Regions from separate parts of the Homo sapiens genome. Here all the other regions are linked to region 4. Evidence: promoter capture Hi-C in 16 types of primary human blood cells and fetal thymus (Javierre and others, 2016). All regions are on one chromosome and are shown on one strand. The core of a region is centred on a gene start or on the middle of the fragment in contact, and the rest is flanking DNA. Distances in the headings are between cores, read along the strand shown.

Evidence for each region. Contacts are between HindIII fragments. The CHiCAGO score rates a contact against its expected background, and 5 or more counts as called.
Region 1: a fragment that was not itself captured here is called in contact with the fragment with the promoter of DIS3 in region 4 in 1 of 17 cell types (total B cells); the score reaches 6.9 in total B cells.
Region 2: a contact is called between the fragment with the promoter of KLF12 here and the fragment with the promoter of DIS3 in region 4, in 1 of 17 cell types (fetal thymus). The highest score is 5.2, in fetal thymus.
Region 3: a fragment that was not itself captured here is called in contact with the fragment with the promoter of DIS3 in region 4 in 2 of 17 cell types (fetal thymus and total B cells); the score reaches 7.1 in fetal thymus.

The regions. Positions count from the first base shown.
Region 1 is chr13:73,793,021-73,797,831 of GRCh38, reverse strand. The region is part of intron 5 of KLF12 (KLF transcription factor 12); the gene reads left to right. Among named protein-coding and RNA genes, the nearest start is that of LINC00393, 130 kb to the right of the region's middle. The HindIII fragment of the contact is 816 bases long and covers 1,773-2,588 here.
Region 2 is chr13:74,130,930-74,135,693 of GRCh38, reverse strand. It overlaps KLF12 (KLF transcription factor 12), which reads left to right and starts at 1,290. Exons shown (of 8, transcript NM_001400136.1): 1 at 1,290-1,722. RefSeq lists a silencer at 1-1,543 and enhancers at 2,553-2,602, 2,633-2,812. The HindIII fragment of the contact is 3,671 bases long and covers 1-3,581 here.
Region 3 is chr13:74,289,228-74,294,356 of GRCh38, reverse strand. All of the region lies in intron 1 of LOC105370259 (a long non-coding RNA gene), which reads right to left. It also overlaps a transcript of KLF12 not described here. Among named protein-coding and RNA genes, the nearest start is that of LINC00402, 60 kb to the right of the region's middle. The HindIII fragment of the contact is 6,826 bases long and covers 1-5,129 here.
Region 4 is chr13:72,780,295-72,785,046 of GRCh38, reverse strand. It overlaps DIS3 (DIS3 exosome endoribonuclease and 3''-5'' exoribonuclease), which reads left to right and starts at 3,147. Exons shown (of 21, transcript NM_014953.5): 1 at 3,147-3,442; 2 at 4,044-4,201. The coding sequence starts at 3,215. PIBF1 (progesterone immunomodulatory binding factor 1) reads right to left here and starts at 2,914. Exons shown (of 18, transcript NM_006346.4): 1 at 2,698-2,914; 2 at 1,326-1,624. The coding sequence starts at 1,577. RefSeq lists enhancers at 3,014-3,123, 3,041-3,955 and a silencer at 3,404-3,453. The HindIII fragment of the contact is 4,441 bases long and covers 1-3,580 here.

The DNA of each region.
Region 1 (4,811 bases), core at 931-3,430, 1.0 Mb before region 4:
AACAATAACTCTAAGTTTAGGATTAAAAAATGTAATGCTTTTTTTTTTTTTTTTTTTTTTTTGAGACAGGATCTTGCTCTCTTGCCCAGGCTGGAGTGCAGTGGCATGATCATAGCTCATTAAAGCCTCAAACTCCTGGGCTCAAGGGATCATCCTGCCTGAGCCTCACTAGTAGCTAGAATTACAGGTGCATGTCACCATGCCCAGGCAATTTTTTAAATTTTTGTAGAAATGGGGTTTTGCTGTGTTGTCCAGGCTGGTCTCGAAATCGTGGCCTCAAGTGATTCTCCTGTCTCAGCCTCCCAAAATGCTGGGATTATAGGCGTGAGCCACTGCACCCGGCCTCCCCTACATGTTAAGATTGCTCTTTACTGCATTCTGTCTTGAAGGGAAAAGATTTATGATTTGTATTTAAAGGAAGAATTGATAGTTTTGGTGATAACTAAACTCTAAAGAATAAGATGAAGAAAGAAGGAATGGCTATGCCTTTGAACTGAATAATGTAGCTAAGAGAGGTGAGTGAAGGAGTTTGATACAATAATGAAACATCCAAGTGGAGCTCTTCTGTTGGTATTTGGAGATCTAGAACTGGAACTGATCAGGAAGGATGGGAAATATAGACAGGAAGTCAGTGGCAGAAGGACGATCCCTGAGGTTATTTTATTTTTATTTTTTGAGGTATTTTTTACATACAATAAAACACTTATTTTAAAGGTGCAGTTCAAAGAATTTAACAATTGTATACTCTCATGTAAGATCTGAACATTTCCATCACCCAGAAAGGCCTTGTGTCCCTGTCCAATAAATGCACTGCTTCCTCCAAACCCCTAGACAGCCACTTTCTGATGCCTTTTACCACCAGTTAGTTCTAGATCTTCATGTATGGAATCGTGTTCTTTTTTTTCAGCCTTCTTTCATTGCATAATGTTTTTGAGATTCTTGCATGTTGTTGCATTGCTAAATAGTATTCCATTGTGTGGGTATAACATAATTTACCTATTCACTTCTTGATGGACATTTGGATTGTTTTTAGTTTGAGACTATTATAAGGCTAGATGAAGGTCTGTGTGTGCAACTTTTCTGTGGACATATGTTTTTATTTCTCTTAGGTAAATACTGAAGAAGGGGATTGCTAGCTCAAAGGTAGATGCGTGTTTATCTTTAGAATAAACTACCAAAGAGTTTTCTATAAGATTTGTTCAATTCACAGGAACAGATATCAAGGACCCAGTTTGGGAGGAAGGCCTGCAGTAAGGAGACAGATGAAGGAAGAAGATTTAATAACACACACACACACACACACACACACACACACACACACACAGCACAGGGGCAGGGAGAAAGAGACAGACAGGGAGAGAGGGAGAAAGCTTAGAGAAGCACCACGAAAATGGGTTCCATCTTTCTGAGGTTCCAGAAGAATAAAATGTGAGAAGCCTGTTTAGTTAGTTGAGGGAAAAAAAGTGAACTAGAGATAGTACAGATCTAGTTTAGTTATGAAAAGGACAAACAAGCCAGGATATATAGCAGGTTAATAGGAAGGAATTGTCAGTGCTAACGGAGTAGGAACCTAAGATTCATGGGGAGGCAAATGTAGAAATGTGTAAGGGAGATGAGAAAAATAAGAATGACAGTCAGAGGAGTGAAGGTCATTTCTGTACACTAGAGATCGATTGGAATGAAGAGAAAATTTTAGACAGTTCCTCCAATAATTGCGTTTGAGAAGACTCCCTAATTACAACATGTTTTTGTGTATGTCTGTAAAATAAGCTTGCTTATCTGATAATTATCTGGATAGATTGATGTAGGCATCAATTTATGAAGTTTGACCCATTCAAAATATACTTATTAAAAGCCCAGTATATGCCAGAGTTATTTTTATCTCCTCCTCTCTGTTTACTATTTATTCTAGGTACATCATCTTTATCTTCTTATCCATATGAACTTTAAAAGTTCTCCTTCCTTCATCTGATCTGTTAGATTCTAAAAATATTTATGAATAAATACTTGTAAATTGTAAACCCAAAGTTTATGTTGAGTCTTGGTTTGTCCCGAGTAGAAAACAAGGAGCTTTTCTTTTGTAACAGTCCTGTCTCCATATTTTATAGCTCTCTAACCTTCCGTCTCTTATCATTTGGAAAAACAAGAGTTTCTTAAGTGCTTTTCAGATTTCTGTACTTGTAAAGTGCCCAGGTATTATTTAGTTAATTGTTTATATTGCATAAAACTAGGATCATAAAATCAAAATTGCAGATAAACATTACTGATTTATCCAGATTCCTACCATGTAACTTCCAGTGAATGCGTTTGCATTGTTCTATAAAATGGCATCACTGACACCAGAAGGAAATTCTCATACTTCATTCTCATATTTCATTTATTCAGTGTGTATTGAACATTTGCCATATGTAAGATACCAAGCTAGGTTTGTGGAGGAGACAGGTAGAGAATATCATCCTTAACATGACAAGAGGCATTTCCTTTGGTGTCCATTATACCTAGGGTGTTTGTATTCAAAGAGAATTTCCAGTGAATTTAAATTTTTTTGTGCATTACAGTAATTTCTGCTCTCTTTCATGGGAGAAGCTTACATTTATTGAGCATTCAATACATGCCAAAAATCAGCAGTCAGTGTGGAAGGTCTGCGTGGATCAGGCAGAGCCATCTTTATCATGGGGAAAAATAAGATTCAAGATTGTCTCATATGTCGTCCCAATTCTGTGCAGAAAAAATCATGAAAACTTTCTTTTTAGCAAATCTCATGCTTGTAAAATCCAGACTTTGTTGATTTTGAAACCAGTCATAAAGAGATAGAGTGGAACAGTAATAACCTGGCTCTATCTAGGAGACAGGAGCACAAAGACGCGTCTGTACTCCTTGTTTCATTTTAAGACTAGGGTCAGATATCCCATGTGGTGCAGAGCACAGAGAACATAAGCAATCTGATCCATTTGTTAATGTAATGGCTTCTTTATTTTGTGGGCTATTTACAAAGAAGTTGAACCTTGCATAGGGACAGGTTAATTTAAACATCCCTTCATGATCTTTGCACTCTGGAAAATATTCTTTAAAGAAAGAATATAGGGTAATTGAAGATGGTGAAAAGATCAGAATGACACACTGACAGCTGGGAAGGGTTAAGTTTTTGAAATTACTTCATCAGGAGAAGGGGAACTTAAGGCTACTTTCAAAGTCATCCTTTAAATATATTGAATATTGTCAGATAACAGGCAGGGTTGAACTGTGTTTCAACTGTAATATATATAAAGTCAGGATTCCACATAGAAAAGTTAAATGTTTTCTGTACTAAACTATACCCACAGGTATGTATAATTATGTATTCGTAACCTTATTATTTTATTTGTATCTTTTGAGACAGGGTCTTGCTCTGTCGCCCAGGCTGGAGTGCAGTGGCGCAATCTTGCTCACTGCAACCTCTGCCTCCTGGGTTCAAGCGATTCTCATACCTCAGCCTCCTGAGTAGCTAAGACTACAAGCGCATACCATCACGCCTGGCTAATTTTTGTATTTTTAATAGAGACAGGGTTTCGCCATGTTGGCCAGGCTGGTCTCGAACTCCCGACCTCAGATGATCCGCCTGCCTCGGCCTCCCAAAGTGCCGGGATTACAGGCATGAGCCATCACACCCGGCCTGTCACCTTTTTAAAAAGGCTATCCCAGTATGTGTTGAAGAAGCAGATTTTCAAAGGTGGCTTGAGGAGCTGATAACCCCCTCACTGCCAAGTAGTGGACCTGGAAGTGTTGCCTCACCTTTGTGGATTTTTTTTTCCTGCAACCAGAAAACAAGGAGTTTGGACTAAATTATGTCTTAGGTCCTATTCAATCTGTGATGGAATGAGTTAGCGATTTATCAACATACTTGAAAAACCTGAGCCCTCCTGTGTAAATATAACTTCTTGGGACCACCAGTTGTCCTTTGTCATTTGGTCATGTGGTTTGTGTTTTCACTATCATGACGCACCGTGACTGTGTCTGAAATGACAGATTCACCTTAAGTAGGAGAGTATGGATGTTGTGATTTAGCACAGTTAGATTCACATGTATCTGTTGGTTCTTTAATAATCAGTTATTTCAATTTAAATAAGAGTTTGGAATTTAGAGTTTCAGTAATCAAACTATTAAAGAAGATTTAATATAATAGGATTTATAAGAGGCACAATAAAAAGTATCAAGAAATTTACATGTGAGAAATACTAGTCATGAAGACAATAGTTGTACTGGAAAGGAGTCTTAATCCAGGAAATGCATTCATAGCTCCAAGCTTATTAACTCTTATTGTGGCCTAACAAAGGACTTTGTCAACTATAAACTCTCAGAATGAGAATTAGAGTTGGTGTCAGAAAATTAGCCTCAATGTGCTTTTTAAAATGGTACCTATAGATGTCTAGGTCTTATAGAAGTGTTTGGGGATCATTTTAATGAATTTTAATTTTTTAAAAATTGCAGTTATATCAAAATCACATATAAAAGAGTTTCCTACTAATATTTTTACAAACTTGGAGCCTATAACTGTGTCAATTTGTTCTATCAGATTATCTTATTTGGGGGCAGACCGCACACACATCTGACCATCTCTGCTGATGTGTTTAAAATTCCTATAAATGAGATCCTTGAGATGGTGAATGCAAGAACTTAGCACAATGCCTGTAATGTAATAAAACCTCAAGAGATGGTAGTTGCTGCAGCTTCCTGTTATCGCTCTTTTTATTATATACCATTGGGTAGAAAGGTTGTCACTTTGTACTAGTTGTTTTCAAATTCATGTCTGCAGATGTCCACTCACATAAAAT
Region 2 (4,764 bases), core at 41-2,540, 1.4 Mb before region 4:
GGGGAATACTGTCGTGCCCGGAGCGCCGCGCTCACCTAGGATGGTGAGGAGGCGGGCCCACAGCCTCCCGCCTCCGTCCGCCGCGCGCCCCGCCCGCCCGGCCGCTTCCGCCCCGTCTGCTCCCCGCCCCCGCCGACCCTCCGGCTCGGCGCTGACCCCGCGCCCTCCGAGCCGCCGCGGGAACTGCAGGGCCGCCCGGCCGCCTCCTCCCTCTCCCGCCCCACAATCCCGCGGATCCGCTCCCCGGGGCGCGGAGGCGGGGAGGGAGGGGCTGCCGGGGAGAGCGTCAAGGACTCGGCTCCGGGCCGTCCGCTTCTTGGGGCTCCGCTCTGGGCGTGGGGCAGTGGAGCTGGACTCCCTTCCCCGCCGCCCCCGGGCCCCGCGGGGGTCTGCAGATCCCGCTTCCTCTGCCCCAGTCCTCCAAGTTTGCGTGCTTTCCCACAGAACTGGCGCAGGCAGGGGCCCCTTCGCTGGGGTGGCGAGGCCAGGCGCGCATCTCCGCCTCGCCCCCATTCATCCCGCCAAGGTGAAGCGCAGGGAAAAGGGGCGCCCCCGCTTCGCCCGCAACGTGCGTCGCTCCGGAACCCAAACAATGACTCCCCTGCCTGCCGCGCCCGGCCCTCCGCCCGCCCCACCGGCGCGCGGGGGGCACCGCCCGCGGGGCTGCCCCTGCCTGACCCCATTGTTGCCCGGCGCGGGCGATGCCCGGCGCCCAGGGGCGGTCCCCGCGAGCTGCCCCACAGTCCCGGCCGGCTCCGCCCACACCTTTCCAAGTTCGCTGGCGGGCGAGCCGCGGGGACGACCCGGGCGACAGCCCCCTCCCTCCACTGCGCGCCCCCACCCGGGCGGGTGCGGCGAGGGGTGGGGGCCCAAGCGGGCTGCACGCTTTTTGGGTCCCCGAATTCTCCTAAGCCTGTCTGGCGCGCTCTGACACAAAAGAGGAGACTTTCTCGCGGCTCGGCGCGAGTCCTTGCCCAGCGAGTTGCTCTCCAGGGGTCCCTCCCGCCGCAAGCCCCCGCGGGCCCCCTCGGCCGACGACTCCCCGAGCTCCCAGGGCCATGTGTGGGTTATTTGGGGTGCCGCAGCAAAGTGGTGCAGGTGAAAGGGAAGCGCTGCCGAGGCCCGGGGCCGGAGGGCGGGGGCAGGGGTGGGGCGGGGTGGGGCGGGGTGGAGGCGCCGCGGACCCAGCCCGGCGGTCCGGGCGGGGAGGCGAGGGCCGGGCAGTGGGTGTTGCCTTCTACCTCTGCGAGCGGGGAGGGGTTAGTTTCCCACAGGGGATTTCAACCATCACACTCAGAGCCCGCCTCCTAATCCTCGGGCGGAGCGGCTCGGGGGCCCCATTTTATGGCAATAAAGCGACTTAGCGCCTGCTGAGCGAGCCCCTCCCCGCCGCCGCCCCCGCCCTCGGCCCCACCCCGGGGCTCGCCGGCAGCGGCGGGGCTTTGTTTCTGGGGAGGAGGACCCGGAGCTCTTTTGTTTGGGGGTTTCTTGTTTTCGGCCCCCCCCCTCACAGCACCCCACCCCACCCCACCCCAAGCGCCTCTCCGGTTTCCTGAGCTGCGGGCTGCGAGGGAGGAGAAGCGGCGTCCTGCAACCCCCTCGGCTGGGCCCCGGGGTAATTCGATGCGGGCCTGGCGAGGCTCCCCACACTAGACCGGGGCTCGCAACTCGGCAGCCTCCACCCACCGGCCCACCCTACATTTAGCGCATCATGTGATCCGGGTAAGTCATTTGCAAGTACAACAGTTCCCCGGGTTGCCCCCCATTCATTTCCTGAGAACTGCAGAGAGCCGCTGAGAGGCTCTGCGTGTGCGTGTGCGCGGGTGACGCCGTGTGTGTGCGAGTGTGTGTGTGTGTGTGCGCGCGCGCGTGTGAGAGAGAGAAAGGGAGAGAGAGAGGGGGACTCTGTGTGAGGGAAAGAAAACAATTTCTCCTGCTCTGCAGCTTCTGTTCAGGTCTGTGCCGATTCCGTTTCTTATCAAAATAAACAACCCCCTCCTCTTTTTTTTTTTTTTTTGCCATCCCAAATCAGACCGTATTCTCTTAACGTGTTTTATTTTCCTTCTGTCATCTGCTCAAGTTAAATCATTTTGGTTGGTCTGTGTTCTTAAAGGGGGAAAGTGCTGGGAAGCGGGAGGGGGCCGGGGAAGGGCGATGCTGTTGCAAAGCAAGTAGCGTCGGTCGGATTCGTGGAGAAGAAAGAAGGAGGTTTCTTCCCCACCTCCCCTAATTTTTTTTTTCCAGAAGAAGTTATCAAGTAACGTGAATTAAGCAAGTGTTTTTCTACCCCTAGTGGAATTGTTGGTTGCAGTGTTTGCCTGACAGTTGCCAAGGATGTGAAATAAAACCCCAGGGCTGAACTTGGGGGGGAGGGGGGGCTCGTGGAAGTAGTTGGCCCCCCGGCCTCGAGCGGGGTGGATGAATAGCTCCGCACCGGGACCGTGTGGGCTGTGTGTGCGCGCTGGAGAGAGTGGAGGGGAAGGGGTTAAGGCGGAGATGACACTGCTGGCATGAATAGTGCTCCTGGTGCTACATTCATTATTGTCTCTGGTCGTAATGATGTGTAACTGTCACTTGCTACAGTGCCTGGTCCATGCAAGTAGCCAGGGGCTGGCCGGTGGCTGTTATTTTCAATTACGGGGGACCTGGCCGGAGTTGACAAGGGGCAACTTTGTACGTCCACCCGGGCCGGGAACCCGCAGAGCCGGCCTGGGAGCCACTTCTTGCCTCAGAAGCTCACTCTGAGGGTTCAGACTTGACCTCCGCGACATTAGTTGGTGTTCACGTTAGATGCTCCCCTACGGGGAGAATCAGTCCTGCTTTTGTTGGGTAGCGAGCTGTCTGCAAGAACTTTGAAAACTTTTATCTTTGGGGAAAAGGGTGGGGTGCACTCAACAGTTTTGTTTCGCAGTGCATTTGAGGCAAATGCTTGGAAAAAGTACCAATTCCTTTGTTATATGCCCTGCAGCTTCCCAACCCCCTTCACCCTGCGCTTCGAGTTTTGCATACTTTAATAGTAATAGTCTTATTTCAGCTGATAAAAGCTGACTGTGTTGAGTTAAAGAGTATTAATACAACGGAATGTGTAATCTGGATAAACAGTTTGCGTAGTTAGTATTGTCAGCACTCTAATTTAACTGTATAGATGGCTAAAGTGTCGTTCTGTATGGATTGTTTTAGATAATTCCACTGGCTAATGGAATTCTCGGCGAGCACTCTGATATTTTATTTTACACCAGCGTTAAGATTCTCTGTTTCCCTGTAACATCGGAGAGACGAGCAACTCTATTTACATTTAGTGCGTGTGCATCTAGTGACTTCGGTAGACATCTGCCAATCAAATACACGTCATTCTGCAAAACCACCTAGACGCCTCCATGCCCTTTTCTTACTGGACGATAGAGTTGTTTAGATAAGTAAATGCTTTGAAATAAATTTGGTGGCTTTTAGCAAGAAGCAGCTTGTGATGGGAATAGGAGTGGTCACTTTGAGGAGTGGGTGTATACCGTCTTCTAAGAAACGCTTTTAGAACTGACATTTATTTAAAACAGTGGACCCCCCCTCCCTCAAGGAAAAAAGCTTGCTTGTGCTATTCTCAGACCTCATTCACATGTTGTGTGCATTTTTTAAGACCACATAGAAATTGGTTCCGATAAAGGAGTATACTTTTAGGTTAGAAAATTTCAAACTGTAGAAGCATAGTGGAAATAGGATGTTGAAGGACAGACGTTTCAGTTGGGTAAGTTATATCTTTATTGTTGCAGACGGGTCTTGATACTAGATTGAATATATTAAGCTCCTTTGAGTTGGGGAAAGAGCAATTTGAGCATATAAAAATTAGGAAAGCAGTTTATTATTCTGCCAATTTAATAACTATTATGAAATGTACTGGGAAAATTTGAAATTTGAAATGTTTTCACATAAAATTTTCATAATTTTGAACTAAGACCATGTAACCAACATGGCTATGTCAGGTTAAACAAAACATTCTTGAGGGTTTCTGTTTATTTTTGAAAACCTTCAGTTATTTATCTACTACTTAGCAATGCAGTCAGCTGAACTTTATTGTGGAATGCTTTTTATTACTGTTTATTGAAAAAAATTGTTGTGCTAATGAGTCCTTAATATTCTCCACCTCCCACTCCCCAGAAGTTCTTTTTACAGCAATGACTATCATTTGGGAGTAAATGGTCCTGGTATAGCATTTGAGACCTTGACCTTAGCAACTCTTGGCTGGTGGTTGTTTACTACAGCTGCAGCCTATGTGTGTGCTGAAAGGGAAGGTCTGCAAACACTAGTGTACTCACTCTCCCCAGGCCAAAGGGAGAACAAATCGGGATGCTTGACGTTCATTCTGAAGAACATGCATCTGGCCTGTAATATCCATCGTGTTCTGGTCATGTGAAAATATACATGTTGCTCAGGGATATTTTCCCTGACTCCTGTTCAGGGAAAGTATGCACTTTAACAGGCTCCAGTGAGTTTTAGATGTTACAGTATATCATGAAACAGGCTGTTATCAACTTACTGAAATAATTTGGCCTTAAATATAGGTGTGTTTTATCTCTGCAGAGACAACGTAAGTGCTTAGGCCTCTAGGCCTATGCTGAGAGCATTTTGAATTCAAGCCAGTGTTGGTTAATCTAGAGTTTGGGGTAACCTTACCCAGTGAAGGCATATTGTTAAGTAGATGAACATATAGAGGTCCTGGACATTTTTTCCATTGTACAACATGGAAAGCATGGGACTTTATGTTTTTGCAAA
Region 3 (5,129 bases), core at 772-3,271, 1.5 Mb before region 4:
GATTAGAAAACCAAACATGTGACATTATGTCATCTAAACCAGTGCTTCACTTAATGGGTCCGATGTACATGATTTGGATGATGGGTGCCTAAAAGCCCTGACTTCCCTACTACACAATCGGTGCATGTAACAAAATTGCCTTGTACCCAATAAAGTCATACAAATAAAAATAAAAATAAACTCCTGCTACTTACTCAAAGTGTGGTTCACAGACCAGCACATGGCTTCACCTAGAAGTTTTTGGCAATGCCAAATCTCATGCCCTACTCCCGGCATTCTGGAAAAATATGTATTATTTTAATAAGGTCCCTTTGACGGCTTAGTGATTGTAGATACTTTAAAGTTTAAGAAGCACTAATCTAAGACAACTAACATTGAGGGTAGTGGAGGAGTAAGAGGTGAGAGGAGATAGCCAATTTTCTTTAAAAATGGGCTGTACATTCAGAATTTCAATCATGACTCTATACACTTTTAAGAGCATTCTGGTGGTTAGCACTAATTTTATTTCATATTACGTTTACCATGTTCAGAAGTTTCTAGAAAAAGAAGCAGCCACAGGTGCTGACATGGCCAATATACAAAAGGCAGATGCTCCTTCAAATGCAGTGTTTTATAAAAGACTGCCAAAATCCAAGCTATAACTGGATGATTAGGTGGCATTTGAACTGCTCGTTTGGAATGTCAGCAGGGATAATGCTTACGTAAGCTGGATGCCATCTTATATAGTCCTTCAGTTACTGGGAAATAGAAATCCAGAAGAGAATCTATTTTATCATTATGATGGACTGAGAAAGAGAACAGAAAGATCTTAAAATATTCTGTGACACTTCCGTCAGTTCATTTCATACATATGCATATTAATATGTGTGTAGGTGTGTGTAATGTTGAGAATGTCTGGGATTCTTGAATTTACTATTATATCCTGCATTTACTAATCTGATCTCCAATTCTCATTTTTTCAGTCCCTCGATTGTACCCAAAAATTCGTGAGGATCACAGCCAATATGAACAGGTTTTGAGGGAGTTTGAAGGGGGAAAAAATAGTAGACCTCAGAAAGGGTACACCAGCTAAAAATCTTCACCCAGGATTTTCCCTGGAATCTCTTCTGGCCCAGCTTCCCACACCTCATCTACCCTAAAGAGCACTGGCACCCTTTGGGTAAAGAATACTAAAACTGTGTATTCTCATTGTCTTAACATCTCATTCGTATAATGTGATGGGTAAATTGAAATATTTCTGCTTGGCTCAATAAGAAAAGCTCATATACATTCTCAGCTTTGGTATGAGGCAGGGGTGTTCAGAGCCCCTTTCTGGCCATTGCACCTATGTGCCTGTTGTACCCCTGTCCTAAAGAACTTAAGAGTTCCTATTGCTGTCTTCATCAATGCTCATTAACAATGATTTTTAGGAATCTGCTATGTCCAAGCACTTTTCTAGGCTCTGGGCTCAGAAGCAAACAAAGATGCTACTCATGTGGACCTGACATGCTCAAGAGAGCAAAACAGATAATAAACAAATTAAAAATACAACATAAAATCATGTCTAGTGGCAATGGAAAAGCATAACATGGTGTTATGGGAAAGAGAGTCATAGGGAAGCCATTTCAGCCAGGGTGTTAAGTCAGATTTCTCTTGTTAATATTTGAACTGAGACCTGAAGAAAGTGACGAAGGTACACTTGGGAGGGGAAGCATTCCAGGCAAGGGGAGCTGCAAAGTAAAGTCCTCCAGCCAAAACATACTAGGCTTATTTGGGAAGTTGCAAGAAGGTTAGTATGGCCTGGATAGAGTATAGGAGAAAAGGAGTGACAAGAAATGATCAGTAAGGAGACAGGTCATGTAGATTCTGGAAGGACCTTATGGACATAACAAAGTTAAAACCACAAACATACAAAAAAAAAAAAAGAAAAAGAAACCCTTTCATTTACTGAGATAGGCACTATGCTAATAAAACATATATACTTTATTCAGTCTCATTCTCACAATCTTCCCACCCCATACCTGGGTATCATCATTATCCTTCAAGAGAACTGAAGTTTAGATAGATTAATTATAATGATCAAGGTTGCAAAGCTACTAATGGTTGGAGTTGGGATTTGAACTCAGGTCTGTCTGACACCAAAGGCCCTTGTACTCAACACCATGCTGTTACTAGAGAGAGAGCTCTTGAATCAAAATTCACATGCACTTTGTTGGTAGAAATACCAGGAAGTTCAAGTACAGTGGATACAGCTCTAGGTCCTTCTAACTTTAATAGAATGGTAGTCTATTCTCTACTTTTTACTGCAATTAAACTTAACTTTGGTCTCATTTCCCATGCTCTTAACACAGTGAGCATCTCGTTGAATGTCCAATGTCTACAATAATATTGTAAAGCATTTATTTAAACTATAAAATAATCAAATTTTACAACATCTAGCTAACCTGTGATCAGACTCTGCAAACAATAAGTTCTGATACACAGCTGAGAAGACATTTTGATTTCAAAAATAGTTGATATTAGCTACTGAATTTGAGGTATGGGTGCCCAAAATATCTGGTGCTTTCTACCTCTTCCTAATTTACATCATCTTTGCTGATTTGTGTGCCTGCTTTTCCAGATTTCTCTCACTAAGGTGTAGATACATATATGTATATCCAGTCAGGGAGGTCTATTCCATATATAGTCATCCTTTCTCATCTCATTCTCCTACACATGAACACTTTCTAGTCTTTTTCTGCCGGTTAAAATCCAGTTGCTCCTTTAATGCCCTGCCCTTCTCACTGGAGCATTTAATATACAGCCCTGCCTGTGGACTGGATTAACCTTCGCCATATATGTTCTGCTTCGCCAACTGACAATGAACAGACTGACCTTGTTGTCTATATCTCTGAGGATGTGACTTTGCCCAGAGAGCCATGCTTGGGGCCTCACTTGCCACCACAGATGATGAGACTTTTGAGCCTCAGCTTAAGATCACTACCAACACTTCTTCCTGGCCTCCCAATCACACTTGCATCTCATGCTGACCAGAACATTTATTTGAATGTTTCAGTTAGTTGAATAATTCCTAACTCATGCACAACTGATTTATCTAACTGTCAGCTTCATTATAAGGTAGTGTAGTTTTCAAACCTATTTATAGGCATTTCCTCAGAAAAGCCCAGGAATCTGAGTGACCTGAAGCACACATTTAATGGCACAAAACCCTAACTGATTTAAAAATAAAACCCACTTAGGACAAAAATAAACCAGGTAGGTTTTCCCTCCTCCAATGCCCTGTATCCTACAAACTGGTAAATTTTAGATCTAGTTCTTTTTAAGAAAGCTCTGCTCACTGGGGCAAAAAATTGTTGTTGTAGAATAAGTGGAATAAGTTTGTTTTCAGTTAGGCCAGTGGGACAATATTCAGCTAAGCATACTCTTTCTAGAAACACTTCAGTGAAAGTTCTGTCCAACTGTTTGTTTGTTCATTTATTTTAACAAAAAACAGACTTTTCCTATGTTGCGTTTGCTGTGCAAACGGAGCTAGCATCCAATGGCATGTAAATCAGGTATAAATTATAAAGGTTTTTATATTTGTCTTCAGGACAACAACGTTTAAAATACTCTGCCTTCTCCAACAGTTTGTTGAAGTGCAGAAGCTGAAAAAATTCTGGGCTTGTAAAGAAACTGCAATGCCTAAAACTCTCCAGAAGTACTCAGAATGACAGGGCTCTTAACCAATAATACGTGAGATTCACGGAACACATTGTCACTACTCAGCAAATAATAAGAGGCAGGTATAAGTATGACATCATTGAAATACAGTCTCATTGGCGGTTCCTCTGTGTGCTGGTTACTGCTCTATTTGTGGAAGCAGCAGCCTTATTCAAATTAACCTTTTCACGCAGAGGGGTGGAGGGAGGTAGTGAGTAATATGCGGCAGTCTTTTCCCTGAAGGTGATGTGCTCTCAAATTCGCTTTGCATTGCCTTTGAGCAGACAAAATAAAAATAAATTCAGCTGTGGCAGTGTTTCACAGGGATAATAGCTGCTGGAATTAGATCAGGTCAGTGGAAAGGAATGAAAAAGAATCTGTGGCTGAGTTCAAGCAAATTTCTGAATTTTATTCTAGCTTTTATTCTTTCCCCCTTATTATTTCTCCGTGTCTCATTCGTGGTGTCAACGGCTGCAGAGACTAAACTTGGAATCCCTCCAATTGGCCATTTGAGAGGGAAATTTCTTTGAATATTAATACCTCTAGCCCATGCTGTCTGGGGGTCTAGCAGACAGGTCAGATTAATGGATGGTTTTCTGGCATTGTACAAATACTCAGGAGTATGAAGCTGATGAGATAATTTAATCACATTTACTGTAGTCTGTGAGGAACTGTCATCCTGTATCCTGTTACTGTTATATAATATAGGGCCTCCAGCTACATCAAGGATACACAAGAGAGCCCACTCAAGTTTTTAACTCTTAGGATTTTGTTTTAACTTATGAGGGCTCCGATATAAGGTGGCTGTCCTTTAATGATATATCTCTTCCTTTCCCAGTTTAGTTTCTGGGACTTCACACAACTTTGCCTAAATAAAATGCTTTGGGTCTTTGGCCTTATTTTATTTTCTCTCTTTAAACTTCTGTTTCACTGTCTATTGTCATCTGTCAAAATCATTCTATATAGAATGTAAAATTTTGAATCCTGCTGTAGAGTATATTTGCCTTGGTCATTTCCTGTTTGGGGAATTTATTTACATTTTTTCCCTTCCCTTATTACCTATTACTTTCTACCTCAAAATTTCTCTACTTGTCAAAGACAAATAAAATGATGGAAATGACAAAAGAATACAGAATGTTGACTATAAATCTGTCAACTCTGCCATAATATGGAGTTGGGCCGAAATGGCTGTATTTCAGGTAAGAAACAAGTTGCTGCCTGCATGTAGCTAAGCTCTCTCTGCTCCAAACTCAAGATTCCTTGTTCCACTATTGCATGTCCTTAAAGAGGTGTTAACCTCTGAGAGCTTAGAGCTTCCCTTACTACTCCACTGAGAGTATTAATAACCGTGTCACCACACATTAACGACGATGTCACCAGAACGACATGACATTCTCATTTAGTTACCATCCCATTCCATGTCTGTACTTGTATGGCTTCTCTAACTTAAA
Region 4 (4,752 bases), core at 1,898-4,397:
CAGAGAGCTAGCTGGGCATGGTGGGGAGCACTTGTAATCCCAGCTACGTGGGAGACTGAGGCAGGAGAATTGCTTGAACCCAAGAGGTGGAGGTTGCAGTGAGCCAAGATTGTGCCACTGAACTCCAGCCTGGGTGACAGAGCAAGACTGTCTCCAACAACAACAACAAAAAACAACAAAATACCTCATATGTTAGATTTTTTAAATTGAGCCTACAAAAGTAATTTATCCATATCTACGTTTAAATCACTCCATATTTCAATACTTAAATTATTATTATTATTTTTTTGAGATAGGGTCTCACTCTGTTACCCAGGCTGGAGTGCAGTGGTACGATCTCAGCTCACTGCAATGTCTGCCCCCGGATTCAAGTGATTCTCCCGCCTCAGCCTCGGAAGTAGCTGGGCCTGCAGGCGCAGCACCACTACGCGGGGCTATTTTATTTTTTTAGTAGCAAGGGTGGTCTCACCATGTTGCTCAGGGTAGTCTCGAACTCCTGAGCTTGGAGCAATCCACTGGCCTCAGCATCCAAAGTGCTGGAATTACAGGTGTGAGCCACCGCACTTGGCCTCCAATTATTATTATTATTATTATTACTAGTTTTTGAGAGTCTTGCTGTGTTGCCCAGGCTGGAGTGCAGTGGCACGATTGTGGCTCACTGCAAACTCTGCCTCCTGGGTTCAAGCAATTCTCCTGCCTCAGCCTCCCGAGCAGCTGGGATTACAGGCACCCACCATCATGGCTGGCTAATTTTTTTTTTTTTTTTTTTTTAAGTAGAGCTGGGGTTTCACAATGTTGGCCAGGTTGGTCTCAAACTCCTGACCTCAGGTGATCCCAACTGACAGATAAAACTGTGTGTATATGTCATGTACAACATAATGTTTTGAAGTATACGTACATTGTGAAATGGTTAACTCTAGCTAATTAAAAAATGTTTTACCTCACATAGTTATTTTAGTAATGAGAACACTTAACATCTGCTGTGTTTTTCAAAAACACAATGTTTTCCAAGATTACAATGTCATTAACTATAGCCACCATGCTGTCCAATAGATCTCTTGAATGTATTCCTCCTATTCAACTGTAATTATGTATCCTTTGACCAACATCTCCCCAACCCTCCTTCACCCCTAACCATGCCAGCCCTTGGTAACCACCATTCTATTCTCTACTTCTATGAACACCAAAATTATTTAAAGGCTGTACTTGTCAAGAAATATAAATGTATCATTTCAAGTTCAGATAATGTGTGTATTTAATTCTTATTTACCTGCCGTTTGAAGACAATAAAGCATATAGAACACAAAATTTAAACCTGATCTTACCTTTGTAAGATAATCCACTTTCAAATTGTCGATCATCATAGTTTTCTGGGATAGCTCAATTTTTAGTAACTGAATATTATGAAGTAGTTCTTTTCGTTCAATTAGCTGCCTGGTGATTCTGACTTTGCCCTCTCGCTCTTCTGATGAGGAAATATCATCCGTAGGAACTGTTGTTTCTAAACTAATATCTTCAGATTCCAGAGAACTAGAGATGTTCACTTTTTTTGACTCCTTTGAAATTTTTCGAGACATTTTTATTATTATGGATCAGTTTTCTTCTCTAATTTGATTTTAATATTCTGTAGGTTAAAAAACATTAATTCAAATGTACTATAAAATTAACTACAGAAATCATGGACTGTATTAAAGAGAGACTAAGGATTCCTTAAATAAATATTAGGCAATTTAGTGCATCCCAAATCTAGAACAGATTATTGCAGTTAAGTTAATGCTCAAATCAAACACATTAATTCCTAATATGAAGTCAGCCTTCGAGAAACTTAAAAAAACAGTTCCTGCGGGGAGGAATCTTACTTGGAGGAAACAAAGAAATGTACAAGATGAAGAAAAAAGCCCATTATAATCAAGAATGGCACCACTAAAACCAACACATGCTCAAAGATAACAGAAATCACGTCTGAGTTGGTCAGGGAAACGTTACACAGAGGTAGCACTTAGAATCTTTAAAGATTTGGACAGGCATGGTAAAAAGGAGAAATCATGCAGTTATTAATGATACGTAAGTGGAAGTAAAAAAACAAAGCCAAGTCTTGGAATAGTTACTCCTTTCACCGCCCCCCCAACACAAACACAAACACACACACACACACACACACACACACACACGCCCTTAACGATCAAGACTGGAAGGCCTTAAATGTCAAAATAGGGTTGGATTTTATTCTACAGGCAATGAGGCATCATTGAAGATGTTTTAAATAGGGAAAACGGGGACAAAAACATTTTTTATAGATAGCAGAATGAAAACAACAGGATATAAGAAAAATTCAAGAAATTCTAAATAGAACTTACTTCTAACTCTCTCATAAGAATGTTAGCAACTACCTTGTTTTAATACCTCATGATATAACAAATTATGCTATTAAATATTTCAGTTTTTCTAAACTGAATGATAAGGAAAGGTGTGTGGAGGGGAAACAGCGAGAACTATACTAAGATCGGCCTCCCTCCTTCTTTTTGAAGGGAAATAGGTAAGAAAAAGTGAATTCAAAGACAAATTCTCTCCTCGATTACAAAGGGCCCGAGACGGGGACTGCCTATACACTCGGCGTGAAAATTAAGCCCCAAACTTGGCAGCTCGGGGGATTCCTTGCCCCACGCGGGAAAGAAAGCGATGATAGTCGCAAGTTACCTCGAAAGTGTCAATTACTCCACACTGAAGCCTTGACCAGCAGCCAGTGCAGACACCGAGGGACCAAAGGCGTCTCCGGTCGGAAGCACAAGGTTGCAGGCCCTCAACAAGGGATTTCAAGGCAGGGGACCGTTAGGACCCGTAACCAAGACAACCATCTCCGCACCCGCAAGGAGGACAGAACCAGCACTCCCACAAGCCGCCGGAAGTCAACTCTCCCGGATGTTCCGAGGAGCGGAAAGCAACACACGTTGTGAGGTGGCGTCCAGAAGGAAGCCCCGCCTAGGCCACGGGCGGAAATGGCTCCTCGCCTTGCTTTGCCGCCCCTCCCCACTCTCGCCCAATCCCCGCGGCCGTCAGAGAGCCAACCAATGTTTATCTCGGCATTTTCCCGCGAGAAGTGTTACTAATATCCGGGAATGGAAAGGGAAGAACCTCCGGGGTTAGGCGTATTCTAGATTGACGCCTTTTGCTGGAAGAGCGCTGCTGGGGTTAGGATTCTGCGCGGCGAGGCAAGATGCTCAAGTCCAAGACGTTCTTAAAAAAGACCCGGGCGGGCGGCGTGATGAAGATCGTGCGCGAGCACTACCTGCGAGACGACATCGGCTGCGGTGCGCCCGGGTGCGCAGCGTGTGGAGGGGCGCACGAGGGGCCGGCCCTGGAGCCGCAGCCCCAGGACCCGGCGAGCAGCGTCTGCCCGCAACCGCACTACTTGCTGCCCGACACTAATGTGTTACTGCACCAGGTGCGTGGGCGGGCGAACCGCGGACAGCGCGGCCCCACGGGGACAAGGGGGTATGACAGGGAAACTGAGGCCCAGGGAGGCGGGTCTTTGGCAGTGTCACATACCTAGCGAAAGGGAAACCCCCTCGGGACCGAAGCTTCCTGTTCCCCAGGCCGAGGTTCTTTTCCTTGTGCTTTAAAAAATTTAGTTCTTGGAGTCGTAGTTCAGACACGTTATTTTTCTAACTCCTGGTGTCTCTTCTGCCTTAGATTGTAAGTGCCTGGAGGCCGGGGACCTGGGCTTCTGTGGCCTCCAGCCTGCGACTCCCAGGCAGCTTGTAAGTGCCTAGGAACAAAAAACTATGTGGGCCAACGTATTCCTTTATTAATACCCTTAATTCTACGAAGTCTTGTGATTGGTCTGTTTAAGTGTGCTTTTTTTAATAGATCTGAAGGGTTTAGTGACTATTGTCTCGTTTTCTATAGCCAAATAGCTTCTTGGCTTAACTTATTCAGTGTTTTTAAAACATAAAGTATTTATGCCCAACATAAAACAGGATTTTATGTTTGACAGAGCTATTTACAAATGAATATAGGAAAAATTAACTTTATCTTTCTTTAAGATTGATGTTCTTGAGGACCCTGCCATCAGGAATGTAATTGTGCTACAAACAGTTCTTCAAGAAGTGAGAAATCGCAGTGCCCCCGTATATAAACGCATCCGAGATGTGACTAATAACCAAGAGAAGCATTTCTATACTTTCACTAATGAGCACCATAGGTAGGAGGAATATTACGTTAAATATCAGAAAACCACAGGATTAGCAAAATTCGGGAGAGGGTTCCTGTGAGTAATTTATGACATTGTCAGAAGATAAGTGATAGATTTCATACCTTATTTAATTCTTACATGGCTGTGCAGAAGATAATGCTAAGTGGATCTCTCTAAGGTCACACAGGCATTGATGGGCTCAAGCCTAAAACCAAGGTCTGCTGACTCCTAGACTACAATAGGTACTTTAATTTCCAAAATGTTTTCATTTTGAATTGGTTTTAGCATGAGTTGGACCATAGAATCTTGGAAGATGAGATTTGCTTAAGTTCCTGGAATACCATATTATGTGAACAACTAACAGAGGGTAATAAAATATATGAGTTTGTGAAGTTTCTATTTTGTTTAAAAATAGAAAGTAGATTTATTCTTAATGGTCTTTTTAAAAGTTTAATACTTTGCAGCTGATTACATTGAGCAAGATTAGGTTAAGGAATAGAATTCTTTTTTTTTTTTTTTTTTTTTTTTTGAGATGGAGTCTCACTCTGTCACCCAGGCTG